Linked DNA regions of Homo sapiens: region 2 is linked to region 1. Evidence: promoter capture Hi-C in human tissues and cell types (Jung and others, 2019). All regions are on one chromosome and are shown on one strand. The core of a region is centred on a gene start or on the middle of the fragment in contact, and the rest is flanking DNA. Distances in the headings are between cores, read along the strand shown. Region 1 holds the start of ADIG (adipogenin). Region 2 overlaps DHX35 (DEAH-box helicase 35).

What was found. Contacts are between HindIII fragments. The study calls those that stand out against the background at their distance.
Region 2: a contact is called between a fragment that was not itself captured here and the fragment with the promoter of ADIG in region 1, in 1 of the 25 tissues and cell types used here (lymphoblastoid cells).

Annotation. Positions count from the first base shown.
Region 1 is chr20:38,576,971-38,584,170 of GRCh38, reverse strand. ADIG (adipogenin) reads right to left here and starts at 2,974. Exons shown (of 3, transcript NM_001393816.1): 1 at 2,797-2,974. The coding sequence starts at 2,920. RALGAPB (Ral GTPase activating protein non-catalytic subunit beta) reads right to left here. Exons shown (of 30, transcript NM_020336.4): 30 at 5,313-7,200. RefSeq lists a silencer at 6,239-6,439. The HindIII fragment of the contact is 13,860 bases long and covers 1-6,994 here.
Region 2 is chr20:38,970,087-38,977,286 of GRCh38, reverse strand. It overlaps DHX35 (DEAH-box helicase 35), which reads right to left. Exons shown (of 22, transcript NM_021931.4): 3 at 4,636-4,728. Among named protein-coding and RNA genes, the nearest start is that of DHX35, 11 kb to the right of the region's middle. The HindIII fragment of the contact is 6,927 bases long and covers 634-7,200 here.

The DNA.
Region 1 (7,200 bases), core at 1,725-4,224:
TGCATCCTGTCGGGTATTCCACGCTTAACCCTCTGTATTCTGAGGCCTGAAACTGCCCTGAGGAGCCAGCAGGAGTGTTGGGGGGTGGTGGGGAGGAGGCGGCAGAGCTACTCCTGTCTGCTTTTCAAACTGGATTTCAGGCAAACTGATTCCAATAAAGGGATCTGCAGCAGAATAGAAAACTGCAGGTCTGGGTGTCCTGACCCCTTAGCCCCCCAAACCCTGACATTGGGTCAGTTCCCAGCACAAGGGCAAAACACGCACAATAATACTGGGAGTTTTAGAAGACGGAGAACCTGAGGGAGGAATGCCCACCTCACTTTAAGGACGGTTTCTCTTCGTTGCAAAATTAACAAATGACTTATTTCAAAACGCCACATGACACCAGTAAACAGCCTCTCAGGAGAAAGTCTGCGGAGGGGTTGGAGTGGGGTAGGTTGTGGATGGTTTTGGAGTTGGGCCTCCAAGCAGAGTGAATGCTGGAGGAGACTCATGCTGCAGGCCTTGGCCTGGGTGGTAGGAGAAATGTCTCCTCTCTGGAGAAGGCATCCAAAGCCACACCACCTGCATTTCCTCCCACATTGACAAAACCAGCATTGGCTGGACTATTTTCTCAGCCTACAGGAACCTACGATGTGCCAGGTGTGTATGCGTACTGTGTGCCCTGCCCTGTAAGTACCCGATATGCATCGACCACTGAAGCCTGTCACAACCCCAAGGGGCAGGTACTAGTGTTGTCTCCATTTTGTAGATGAGAAAAGCAAGGCTCAGAGAGGTGTCCACAGTCATGCAGCTGGTAGGTGGCAGAGTCAGGATTTGAAGGCAGACAATTGGCTCTCTTAAGTAGTTCACAGATGTATGACCTTGGACAGGTTGCTTCTCCTCTCCTAGCCTCAGTTTCCCCAATTGTGATATTATTAAGTATTATTAAGCAGGGTTATTATGAGGATTACATAAGATTATGCAAGTCCAGTGTTTAGCACAAGGTCTGGTATATAGTCAGTGTTCCAAACAGGTTCACTATTATTAGGAACTATTAAGAAGCAAGGATGAGGCTGGGTGCGGTGGCTCATGCCTGTAATCCCATCACTTTGAGAGGCTGAGGCGGGTGGATCACCTGAGCTCAGGAGTTCGAGACCAGCCTGGCTAACATGGTGAAACCCCATCTCTACTAAAAATACAAAAATTAGACAGGTGTGATGGCGGGCACCTGTAATCCCCGCTACTTGGGAGGCTGAGGCAGGAGAATCGCTTGAAGCCAGGAGGCAGAGGTTGCAGTGAGCCGAGATTGTGCCACTGCACTCCAGCCTGGCTGACAAGAGTAAGACTCTGTTTCAAAAAATAAAAATAAAAAAAAAAGGATGATATCTGAACTCATATCTTCCAGACTCCAGAGAGACAACTTTTATCGCCAGTATGCAAACAAGGCTGACTCCCTACCAGCTGTGGGGCCCAATGCCTAAACCGTGCCCCTCAGGGAGGGCTGTGGTCTACCCTAGGACTATGAGGAGAATATACTTTAAATAAACACTTTCTAGAAACAAAAGGACATCCCAAGTTCTTGCCAGGAACTCCCAATAATTACATAATTATAAGCCCCTACATTTGAGATCATGGGGCTAGCAGGGGTGTGGGGAGGGACTTCTCACCCTGCCTCAACAACATCTGACCATTGCTGGCGGCATGTGCTGCGCCCTCCCTGCCTAGCTTGCCAAAGGTCATGGCACTCAGCAGCAGGAGGTAGGAGGTCAAGTGGTCCCCACGAAGAGGCCTTTTTTTGACACAGGGTCTCACTCTGTCTGCTGGAATACAGTGGTGTGATCTCGGCTCACTGCAGCCTCGACCTCCCAGGCTCAAGCAATTCTCCCACCTCAGCCTCCTCAGTAGCTGGGACCACAGATGCATGCCACCACACCTGGCTAATTTTTGTATTCCTTGTAGGGACGTTGCCCAGCCTGGTCTCAAACTCCTGGGCTCAAGCAACCTGGCCACCTTGGCTTCCCAAAGTGCTGGGATTACAGGTGTGAGCCACTGTGTCCAGCAGGAAGAGACCTCTTGCTGAAGGGGATGCTCAGGGAGACACATGCCAGAGGAGCAGAAGTCCCACTCCTGCCACACAGCCAGGCCATATCCTGATCCAGCCACCCCCAGCTTCCTCCACAGCCAGCTTCGTCCCACCTCTTGCTCCTCTTGGTGGCATGCTGAGGTCAGGGTGAATGTCAGCTGGCTTCCATGAGCCTGTCTCCCAAAGCAGCCAGATCCTTTCTGATACATGGCTTAGGCAGAAACAGTGAGTGGTCTGCAGGTATCTGAAAAATGCCTAAGGCTGCTGTATCCCATCGTGCAAGCTGTTTACTGCACAAAAGCAGCCAATTGAGAGGGTGAGCGGGGCTGAAATCCAGCCCACGCTCTGCTCACAGAGCCTTGCACCCCAGCTGAAAGGGGCACCTGGAAGTTCATCTGCCTGGAGCGATAACCTCTGATTTGTTCAAAAGATCACTCTCGAACTCTAGGTTCAAACTCTAGGACTCACTCTCAAACTCTAGGTTCAAACTCTAGGACTCACTCTCGAACTCTAGGTTCAAACTCTAGGACTCACTCTCGAACTCTAGGTTAAGAAACCCTAAACAACCAAACCAATCCTTTCCACTTAAGAGTTGACTGCTTGTATCTAAGCGAGCACTTAAAATGACTGAAGGAAGCCCCTTCTGCAGTTGTTTCAGGACACACTGGCCTATTTGGCCCCCTGCCTAGCTCCAGGATTAGGGTCCTGCCTGGACGGGGTAAGAAGCTCACCTTGGCTAAGTAAGAAGCGTAGCCAGATGATCAATAACAACAGCAAACCCACAGGGAGGCAGAACCAGAAAACCAGGAAAGAAAATGTGAGGTCGTTCACCAGCGGCATCAAAGGGTACTTCATGGCGCATGTGTGGCTAAGCTGGGCCAGCCTGGGCTGGGCTGGCAGGGCTGCCCCATGGGACCTGGCAGGCTGGGCCATGCTCTGCTCTCAGCCCAACTGTGACTAAGCTGTGACATAACAAAGAAGTCACAGTGTACTTCAGGCAAAGCATGCAGGGGACACTTTGAGGGAGAGCTGTTCTGGATGAAAGGGTGGGAAGTGAGGCAGTGAGACAGACAGTCTGGCTGAGAATTAAAAAGCCCAGGTTTCCAGGCAGGCCTGGGCTTGAATCTCAGTCCAGTAGCTATTGGGTTCATGACACCCCTCTGACCCTTTTTCTTGTAAGATGGAGATAATTCTGTTAAGTTAGAAAAATAGATGGGACAAAAATTACCCCCAGGATCGGTGTTCATATATCTGAAGTCACAGACCCCCTCCAGGAGCCAGCTGGGTCCCCAGGTCCTGTAATACCAGCTGTGGGTGCCCACGTCCACACTTGGTGGGGGTGCTGGGGACTGCGGCAAACTGGATGCAGCTTACTGCATCCTAAGCATGCAGTGATGGCAGCTCCAACCAATAACTGCTACAAGTGAAATGCAGGTCCATTATTGCAGGACTCCTAACTTTCCCAAGACAGGCAAAAAGTCTGGATTTCTGTGAAATCTCCCAAGTTTAAAATGTCGGATCAGACCTTGTCAAAGCACTGTTGGCTAAACAAAACGTCTGCCAGGCTGGATTGGTCACTGGGCTGCCACTGAAAACTTTTAAAATCTAACACATAGTAGATTATTCTAATTATTACTAGATTAAATGACTATAAATGATTATTACTTAATCTGAAAGCTTGTGCCTCTCCTTATTAGGGTTTTCAGTGAGGGGCTTCTAACGACTTGAATCTTGTTCCTTTATCTCCTGAGTGGCCAGAACACTTCCACATGTCATCCTCATCTTCTCCTATCTGTCATCCGTTCACTCATCAAGTATTCAGTAAACCTCCATGTGCCAGACCATGGCAGAAAGGAGGCTTCGGGCTTCCCACTGGAGTGGCTGCTGCATGGTATTCTCCAAGAGGACCCTTGGACCACCTGCCTGTGACTGCCAGCAGGTGGGTGGGTGCTGGAGTGTATTTATTAAACATGCCAATTCCCAGGCTCACCTTCGTCTCCTCAGACCTCTTGGGGGTGGGGGTGTGGCTTGGGATTCAACACACTGATAAGCAACTAGAATGATTCTGATGCAGGCTTGATTTTGAGACTACAGCATCTCATGACTTAAAAGCACCTGTTGAAAAGGCAAACCAGGTCCAGGCGGGGGAGCAGCTGCAGGAAGGGGGTGGTAAACTTAGGGAAAAACATGGAGTAGAAAACCCCCTTATAGGAAAAGACACCGATTCAAGGAGAAGGGCGCATGGGGCCAGCAACAGGAAAAAATAAGAGCATGGGAGGGGCTGGGAGAGCTGGGGCATGGTTTCAAGAGTCCTAGCCCAGCTGTGGGAAGGCCAGAATTCCTACAAGAGGAAGTCTGGGAAAATGGACTAGAATGAGTGTCCAAGAGGAGCAGTGCTCTGGCAGGGTGCTCCTGATGCAGGGCCCAGAGGCCAAGAGAAGGAGGAGCAGGTGGTCTGGGTTGGGGGTGATTCCCTGGAACTGGGTCCTGAAGGGGCTGCGGTCAGAGAGAGAGCTGAGCAGCATAGCTGGGAAAGGCTTGAGCACACATTTTTTTTCTGGCTACAAAACCTTTCCAGACACCAAAACAGGGCTACTGTGCAGTCAGCGTCTCTGGCCACTAGGCCCAGCTGGAGGTCCTGTTGTGCGTGGGCAGAGCAGGCAGAACACACAGTGCAAGGTAGGCAGCTCCCAGGCACAGTTCAGAGGGCACACGTCAGCAGCTCTTGGCAGAGGCATGGCCACAATGGTTCTCATGATTGTTTCAAGTGGTCCATTCACTCCACTATGTGTGATCCAGGCCTGAAGGCACTCATCTGGCTCCAAGATGCCCTTCACAAAGGGGGCAGTGGGCGGCAGGGGATGATCTCTGCACCTCCCCCCTTTCCTGACTGTCTAGTCCTACTAGGGCTCAAATTTTCTGCAAGCAGAGGGCACAGCTGGCACTTTCTTGCTCCCGTAACATAAGCATCTATCTCCTCAGCAATTCGCAGCCCCTGAAAGGTGAGCCTCTATTGGCAGTGTTTTAATTATACAAGCTCCTTCCAGCAGAGAAGGCCAAATACTTTTCTTAAAATTAATCAAACTTTGAGTATTTCATGAAATACTCATTTAATGTTCATTTAAACTACAGATCTAAATTATAAAGGGCAGCCAAAGCCGAGCAGACATCCCCTGAAAGGGTAAAATTAACAGCACCAGTGTAGGAGTAAAGCCTCAGCCTGTATCCAAAAGCACACACAAAGTTATTAGATAAGAATCTCCTTAAAATTTAATTGACTAAATGTATTACATTCAATATTCCATGGGCTTCTTCTGGACAAAGGATCGGCATAAATACAAACAAACCTCTGGACCTTCTTCCCTAACCGACGAAGATGAAACACAGGAGGCAAGGGGCACGGGCACGCCTTCATATTTACACTTTGCCTTTACTTTACAGTTCAGTGCCAGAAATATTTACAGAAAATACAATAAGAAAAAATCATGTCTTGGCAACATACTGAAATTCATACAAACTGTATATATGATTTCAAGCAAATAATGATACTGCTTATTTTTTAGCCACAACTGCCAAGCCCTTCAGAGGAGAAAGATGTCTTGGTCACTATAAGAGATGAGGACTTGGGAAACTTGGTTTGCTTCAACAAGTATTTACTGGGCGCCTACTATATGCAAGGCACTGTGGAATCCCAAATTATACCTTTTCCCTCACCATTAAAAAAAGAAAAGCATCTGAAGAACATGAGTTGATATTCTGAGAAACACACTAGAAGTACATGGCTTCTTTAGCTACTAAGAAACCCACCGTTTGATTCCACATCGTACGGATAGACCACCTCCAATCTCTCCAACTCAGGAAAAGAGGCTGTCATGGAAATCTTTAAAACAGACCATCTGACTCCAATGTCATTTCATGTAAACACAGCAATCAGTTCTTTTCAGGAAGAGAGAACCTGAATGGGCTTTAAAATGGTGAATAGAGAACTACTGCCAGCAGCAGTGTCAAATTACCTCCAATACATGTTTCTTTTTTTATTATTTATTTATTTATTTATTTTTACCACCTACCACAAAACACATCTTTGAGCAAGGCTAACTTCCACTTTGGGTAAAGCTCCACCTTCCAGAAGAAATGAATACTCTTAAAGACTCTGCCTCTCTAGAACCCAGTCTGCAGAGTCTGACAAATGCTTCCCTAGTGTATGGAGAAGGTAACCGTTCATGAAGGCCTCATACACAGAACCTGCAGCAGGTAACTGACATTACTGGCCAAAGGTGTGGGTACTTGTATTCATCAATGAATCCAGAGGAAAATGGGCTGCTCTGAAATAAAGGATCTGGAAATGAAGGAAAATGTGCATGAGTATGCGAGTGTGTGTGTGTGTGTGTGTGTGTGTGTGTGTGTCTGATTAGTCCTTTCAAAGGCCCAATGGATGGAAGAGGGTCTCAAGAGGAAGCCCTAGACAAAAAGGAAAGCTAGCTAAATAAGGAAAGGATTAACAAGGTAAAAGCCCTCCTCACTGTCCTCAGTGCTCCCAACCAGAGGGGAGGAGAAAAGCTCCCTCCTGCAACTTAAGAAGGCAGTAGAAGGGAAACCTTACTTACCACCTTCCTCTTCACGGAATGCCACACTCATCCACCCCCGGCATACCCAACAGATATAGCAACTGAACTGTTTAAGCCACAGACAAAAGTGGTCCTGGTTTCCCCCCAGAGGCTAGAACATATGCTGGCAAATTTATCAATGGACTACTAAATATTAATATTAGGTGCTAAATATGTTCCTCCAGTGCTATTCTACTCAAAGTGATTTTTAACAAAGGCAGGTGGGTAAAAATAGTGACCATGAACTCAAATCCATACTAGTGAAAGAGCTAAGCGTTCTTCCCACTCCCTCTTTGGGCAGATGTTATTGTGAGCAGAAGGAACCAGCGCCTGGTAAGGTATGGGTATCCCATATTCCACTGGCTCCGTACACACTGGGAGTTTCATGCCTTCAGGGGCTGCACATCCTTCCTTCCCTGGAAGACGAGGAAGTCTCCCAGATCACAAATGCATTCAACATGATTGTTCATGTATCAAATACATTGGAATTACAAGGAGTTGCCAGAATTTAGAGCTAACTGAAGGATC
Region 2 (7,200 bases), core at 2,848-5,347, 390 kb before region 1:
AATGGCTACTATCAAAAAGATGAACGACAGCAAATGTTGACAAGAATGTGGAGAAAAGGGAACTCTTGCACACTGTTGGTGACAATGTAAACTAGTACAGCCACTATGGACAACAATATGGAGGTTTCTCGAAAAATTAAAAACAGAACTACCATATGATGCAGCAATCCCACTACTGGGTATTTATTCCCAGGAAAGGAAACCAGAACATCAAAGAGACATGTACACTCCCATCACTATTCACAACAGCCGAGACATGGAATCAGCCTAGGTGTCCAACAACAGATGAACTGGTTTTTAAAATGTGATATATATACACAATAGAATACTATTCAGTCATAAAAAAGAATGAAATCCTGTCATTTGCGCCAACACAGATGAACCTAGAGGACATGATATTAAGTGAAATAAGCCAAGCACAGAAGGACAAATACTGCATGAGCTCACTCACATGTGGAATCTAAAAAAGTTGATCTTACAAAAGTAGAGAATAGAACAGTGGATACTAGGGGCTGCAGAGGGAAGAGGGGAACAGGGAGTAGGGAGAATAAAAGGTTGGTCAACAAGCACAGAGTTATAGTTATATAGGAGGAATAAGTTCTGGTGTTCTACTGCACAGCAGAGTGACTATAGTTAACAATAATGTGCCATAGACTTCAAAATAGCTAAGGGAGATTTTGAAGGTTCTCACCACAAAGAAATGATAAATGTTTGAGGTGATGGATATGATAATGACCCAGATTTGATCATTATACAACATATACATATATCAAAACATTACACTAAATCCCATAAATATGCACAGTTATGTGTCAATTCAAAACAGTTTTTTTTTAAAATGAAAGAATAAGTAAAAAAAAAAAAAAAAGTCAAGGCATACTAAAACATGTATAGATGTTTCATGTTTAAAATAGGGCATATATGTGCATACACACACACACACACACACAGACACTTCTCTGTAAATGCATGAAAAAATTTCTACCAAGAAACTCATAATACTGATTATAACTGCACAAAGGAAATGGGTACCAGGAAGACAGGGCAGAAGGAAATCTTTGTATGTCCCTTTGTGCCTTTTGAATTTTAAATCATGTGAACCTATTAATGTTCAAAAATATTAAAAATATTCAAATCTTAAAATTAAAAGAAAAAAAAACTACCTTTGTTTGCCCACATTACCCAGCCTAGATCCTCAGCCTCTGCTCTTTCTCCTTCCCACCAGCTTTCCCTGGACTTAGTAACACAGCAGGCCCTCTCTGTTCCCTGGCAGCTAAGCCTTGCAGGAGTAAATGGCCAAATCACTGTGATATATTTATCATTGTTCCAAATACCTGCCACCCATCCCTATGGGAGGATTATATACACTGTCACCCCGTTGCTATCAGGCCTGGCCATATAACTTGCTTTGACCAATGAAATGTGAACAGAAGGCCCACTTTTGGTCAGAAGTTTTAAGAGCTGTCTCATGATTCTGCCATCTACCACAAGATCAACAAGTGCCTCATAAGAGCAGTACCATCAGCCTAAGGCCCAATGATGATGTGATAGAATCTCAAAGCCAACCCAAGATAACCACACAGTATGAGCAAGAAATAAACCTTTGTGTTTTTAAGCCACTGAGATTTTCAGGTTCTTTGTTACCAGAACATAGTTTATCCTAAGCTGACTACATAACGTCACAGACTAATTCCCAAACAATTCTGGAACATCATGTGGTCTTTTACCTCTGTTCTATATTCCATAACCTCATTACTCTCTACAGTGTCCTCACCTATAAAATGAAGATAATAATGGTATTTGCTTCATAGGGTCATTGAGGATTAAACAGATCAACATGTGTAAAATCACTTTATGTAGCACTTATTACTGTTATTACTTGTTATACTATTGTTATATTACTCTCTAAATGACAATCACACAGTAATTTAACCTTTCTCCTGTTTCTTCCTGTAAGAAATGAGTAACTTACTAGGCTCTCAATTCCATCTGCATATACGGTTATCTTTTTCCTCCAGGCCACCATTTCCTCTGCTGCATGCATTTCAAGTTGTCCTTTACTAGGTCATCTACCTTTACTAGGTCTGTCTACCTTTCCCTAGCTGTCTATTGGGAAACTTTAAAAAAATACCTACATCTGGGTCCCAACCTATTTATAAACCCATTATTCAAAATGGAGTTGGGGAGCAGACAAAAAAAAAGATCTACACAGATCCTGGCATGACCACAAGTCTGGACCAAACAGTCAACAACACATTGTTAACATATTCAAATATGCAAAGGGATTTTTATCATCTTACCCTTAGACACCCTTAACCCTAAAACCCTACCACTGGACGTGCTATCTCCAAGATGAATAACCCAGGACTGAACCAGTTCTCCTGCTCCCTGGCCGCTCTGTTGGCTGAAACTGCCACCTACCCACCTCTCCAGAAACCTCACTCTGTCTTTGCTTTCTCTAACCATGAAGAGTCTGCTGGTTCCTCTGTCATTTCCCTGGCTGCCATTCTATCTCCTTTCTGCTCCTGACTCCTGAATGTTGATGCTCCATGGACTTTGTCCTTAATCCTCTTCTCAGTTATTTCTGTTCCATCTCCTTCCTGCATGTATCAGGATGTTCAATCCCTATGTCCACACCTTCTACGTCTGACCTCTGCCAAGCTTCAGATTCCCATTCCAAACTTCCTGCTAATGTCATCAAAGGCCATCAATAATATAGGAAAAAATAAATATGTTTAAAAACACACACATTAATTTCCCCTCAAAAAAACAATCTTTACTTTTCTATCACATTTAATACTAGCACTGTTCGCCAAGGCAGCAAGTCGTGATCAGTCACTGTGCACCTTTGTCCCTTCCCCTTTGTCATCACAAATATCCATCTATTAGATTGGTGCAAAAGCACCAACCTAAGTTTCTAATGTCTACAGACCCTAACGCTAAAATTGTAAATTGTTCTCCTTCCCATCCTCACCAGATTATCCCACTATCACCTCTTGGTTGAGGACCCCGTTACACCATCCTTCTCTAGACCACTGCAATAGCTTTCTATGGCCTGCCTCCTCCAGTTTCTAAGTCACCTTATATCTCAATATAATCATTTATCTAAAGCTCAGCTTGTCATATTGTTTACTTGCTTGCAAACCCTACAAGGACACAACCACTTTGAATATCTTAGACATTATTTACTAAAGTTGAACACAGGATCCAGCAATGCTACTCTTAGGTAGAGCCCAGCAGGAGAATGTGCACATACGTTCACCAAAGACAAGCACATGAATGTTCACAGCAGCACTATCCATAACTAAAAACTAGGAATGACTCAAATGTCAGTAACAACAGGAAAAATAAACAAACCACAGAATACTCATAGAGTGGAATACTAACTAGCAGGGGTTAGCATTACATTTTACATTTCTGTAAAGGGCCAGATGGTAATTTTTAGGTTTTGAGGATCGTAGGGTCTCTGTCAAAACTGTTCAACCCTGTGTGGTAGCCTGAAAGGAGCCACCGGCAATATATCAACAAGTAGGAGTGGCTGTGTGCCAGCAAAGATTTCTCTACAAAACAGGCAGCGGGCTGCATCTGGCACACTGGCTGTGACTTGCCGAACCCTGCTATGCAGTAATGAGAATGAACAAACTGCAACTAATTCAACACCAAGGAAGACTCACACATAACGTTGGACAAAAGCAGCTATATTATTCCTTTATAAAATTCCAAATATACGCAAAACTAATTTATGAGGTTAGTAGCCAGAATAAGAGCTACCCTTGTGTTCATGATTGTAGGGGTAAGCAGACATGGCAGTTAGAGATGAGAACAGAACACAGAAGAAGAGTTCTTGAGGTTTTGGTAATGTTCTGCTTCTTGATCTGGGTGCTGGTAACACAGATGTATTCCACTTGCAGAAATGTATCAAGGTGTACAATTATGATATAGGTACTTTCCTACATATATGTCATACCTCAAGAAAATTAACATTAAAAAAGGAAGTAAGAACCTGCAAGGTCTCTCAAGCTCAGTCAGTCTTCACTCTTCAAGTTAAGGTTCTTAAGACACACTCTGAACTCACCCTACACTTCTCCACCCCAGTATTTCTAACCACAATATTCACTGGCTTGGAATATCTTCTCAGTCAGCTCCCAGTCAAGGTCAATTTCAAATGCCAATTCCTTTACAAGGCCTTTCTTGATCCTTCTTTCTACTCCTATCCACATCACATAGGATTTTTCCTAGTAAGAAAGGGTTCTTCCATAGCACTGCATAATACTATAACAGCCAATTTTTATTTACAACTACAGCAAAATTCATTTTACCCCACCCCTTCAACTGTAACTATTTAAGGATAAAAACTCTATATTTCACATCTTTGAATAAATCTCCATTGTAACTTTCAGAAGATGGCCATTCCATTACTATTTTGGAATTATAATAAATCGAAGACAAACTGTTACTTTAGTACTCACCAAAGAAATTATAAGCCCTAAAAGTTTAATAAAAAATATCTAGTTGAAGTGAACATTTCCTGAAAGGAGACCTTAAAAATGTAAATGATAGTAAAGAGAGCTCTCAAGTTACAAAATTCTTCCAGCCAAATCGAAGTGTAAAGACACTTATTAAATATGTACTCACCTGAGGAATCTGTGTGCTCTTCCCACATCCTGTTTCACCAACAATCACCACTGTCTGATAATTTTCTATCAAGTATAAAATATGATTCCTAAGCTGAAAAAGAATAACACACCTTGCAAATAGCCATACATTGTCTCAAAAGACCTAAACAACGATATTTAAACATTGTGAAATGAGCTGTTTTCAAAGGAAAGTGAATTTTAAGTAGAACTATCAAAATGTATTTCTAACCCTCAGGTACTGTTCCTCTCAGTATGAGCGAATACAACTGCAATCGTGTTAACACTTATCAAAATACATAATGCATACGCCCTTTACATTTTCACTTATAAGAAATTATAGGCCGGGTGAGGTGGCTCACGCCTGCAATCCCAGCACTTTGGGAGGCCAGGGCCGGGGGTGGATCATGAGGTCAGGAGTTCAAGACCAGCCTGGCCAACATGGTGAAACCCTGTCTCTACTAAAAATACAAAAATTAGCTGGGCGCAGTGGAAAGTGCCTGTAATACTAGCTACTCAGGACGCTAAGGCAGCAGAATTGCTTGAACCCAGGCGGGGGGAGGCTGCAGTGAGGCGAGACCATGCCACTGCACTTCAGCCTGAGCAACAGGGTGAGACTCTGTCTCAAAAAAAAAAAAAAAAAAAAAACAAAACAAAACAAAAAAAACAAGAAATTATAGACATACTGCTACATACTATATGTGTACAAAGACATAAATACAAGCATACTCATTGCAGAGTTGTTTATAATAGCCAAAAATTCAAACAGCCTAAATGTTGATCAACAAAAGTTTGGTTAAATCAGTCATAAAATATTCCAATAATGGAATAATTTGTAGTTATTAAGAAGAGGAAATATCTACTTGTACTGATATGGAATGAACTATAAGATATGTTAAGAAAAGGAAGTGAGATGTAGAACAGTGTGAATAATACCCTAGTAACTGCATTCTTCTTAGGGCAAACACGTATCTACTTGTTTATGCGTAGACTGTTTTTGGGGAAAAACAAAACAAAACAAGAAGCTGTCAATAGTGCTGCCCCCAGAGAGGTTGACATGTTCTTACACTAAGGACAATATACAAAGCAGAAATCAGGAGGCATTTATAAGACTGGGTCTAAACAGAAGTGAACATGGCAGACTTGCATCCAAGATAGAGTCACTATTGTCTATACAGCAGCCTAAAGAAGGCAGACAAGGGAACAGGTGGCCTCATAATGGTGCTGGGGAAGAGGCAGTGATCTTTAACAATCTCTTGATGCTTTAGTTCCAACATTGTTTTGTTTTGTTTTGTTTTTTGAGATGGAGTCTCGCTCTGTTGCCCAGGCAGGAGTGCAGTGGTGCAATCTTGGCTCACTGCAACCCCCACCTCCCGGGTTCAAGAGTTCTCCTGCCTCAGCCTCCCAAGTAGCTGGGATTACAAACATGTGCCACCACGCCCGGCTAATTTTTTATATTTTTAGTAGAGATGGGGTTTCACCATGTTTGCCAGGTTGGTCTCGAACTCCTTGTCTCAAGTGATCCACCCGCCTCAGCCTCCCAAAGCCTATAGGATTACAGCCGTAAGCCACCACACCGAGCCTCCAATTTCTGTTTTTAAAGCTACTTTTACTTTTTGTTTGAAAGGGAAAAAGGATGGCGTAGAGGTAACTTGTTTTCCTTTTTGTCTCGATTCATCTTCAACATCTTATAAGATCTCAACTGTACTTAAACTCTGCTTTGCTTTATATCAGTAACTTACACCCTTCTTCTTACCATTTTAATTTCATAAACATTTCTTAACTTCTTGTTGCTTTTTTTTTTTTCATTTGCTGTTTCATTTATGTTATCTTGTAAGTACAGTTGGGAGACAAAGAATAGTCAAGAAAAGGCCAAAATTTAAATACTTGAGTAAACAGTAATTTCCCTTGTACTTGAGCATTTACTACATGTCAGGTATCTTGCTAAATGCTCTGCATGGATGATCTCATCTGGTCCTCATAACAGTCCTATGAGGTAGGTGCTCCTGTAGTCCTACATCACAGATAAAGAAAAGAAGCTCAGAATGGAGAAGTGAGGTCACACAGCACACAAATGGTGAAGCTTGGGTTTGAACCCTGAAGTCTAGCTCCAGAGTCCGGACACTTCATCACAGCTCAAACTGTCCCTCAGTGGTGAGAAAGCAATAGTAAACCTATCATTTCATCTCCTGAAAGTCAAACTTGCTAACATTCATACATAGTGAATGTGTTAGTCACTTGAGGAAGAAACCCAGAGACAGTCAGTTCACTTGTGACTAAAATATTGGGAGCCACATAAAACTCCAAGTAAGGCAATCTGGCTAAATTAAGAAGGCTGCTGTTGCCTATCTGTTTGGAGAAAGAACACATTAATAGAAGAGGAATTATCAGCACAGTCTAGTCAAAAGAACTCCATGAGTATAAGAACTTGGCACCTTTTGGCTGCTCACACCTGTAATCCCAGCACTTTGGGAGGCCGAGGCAGGAGAACTGCTTGAGCTCAGGGGTTCGTGACCAGCCTGAACAATATAGGAAGACCCTGTCTGATAGATAGACAGACAGACAG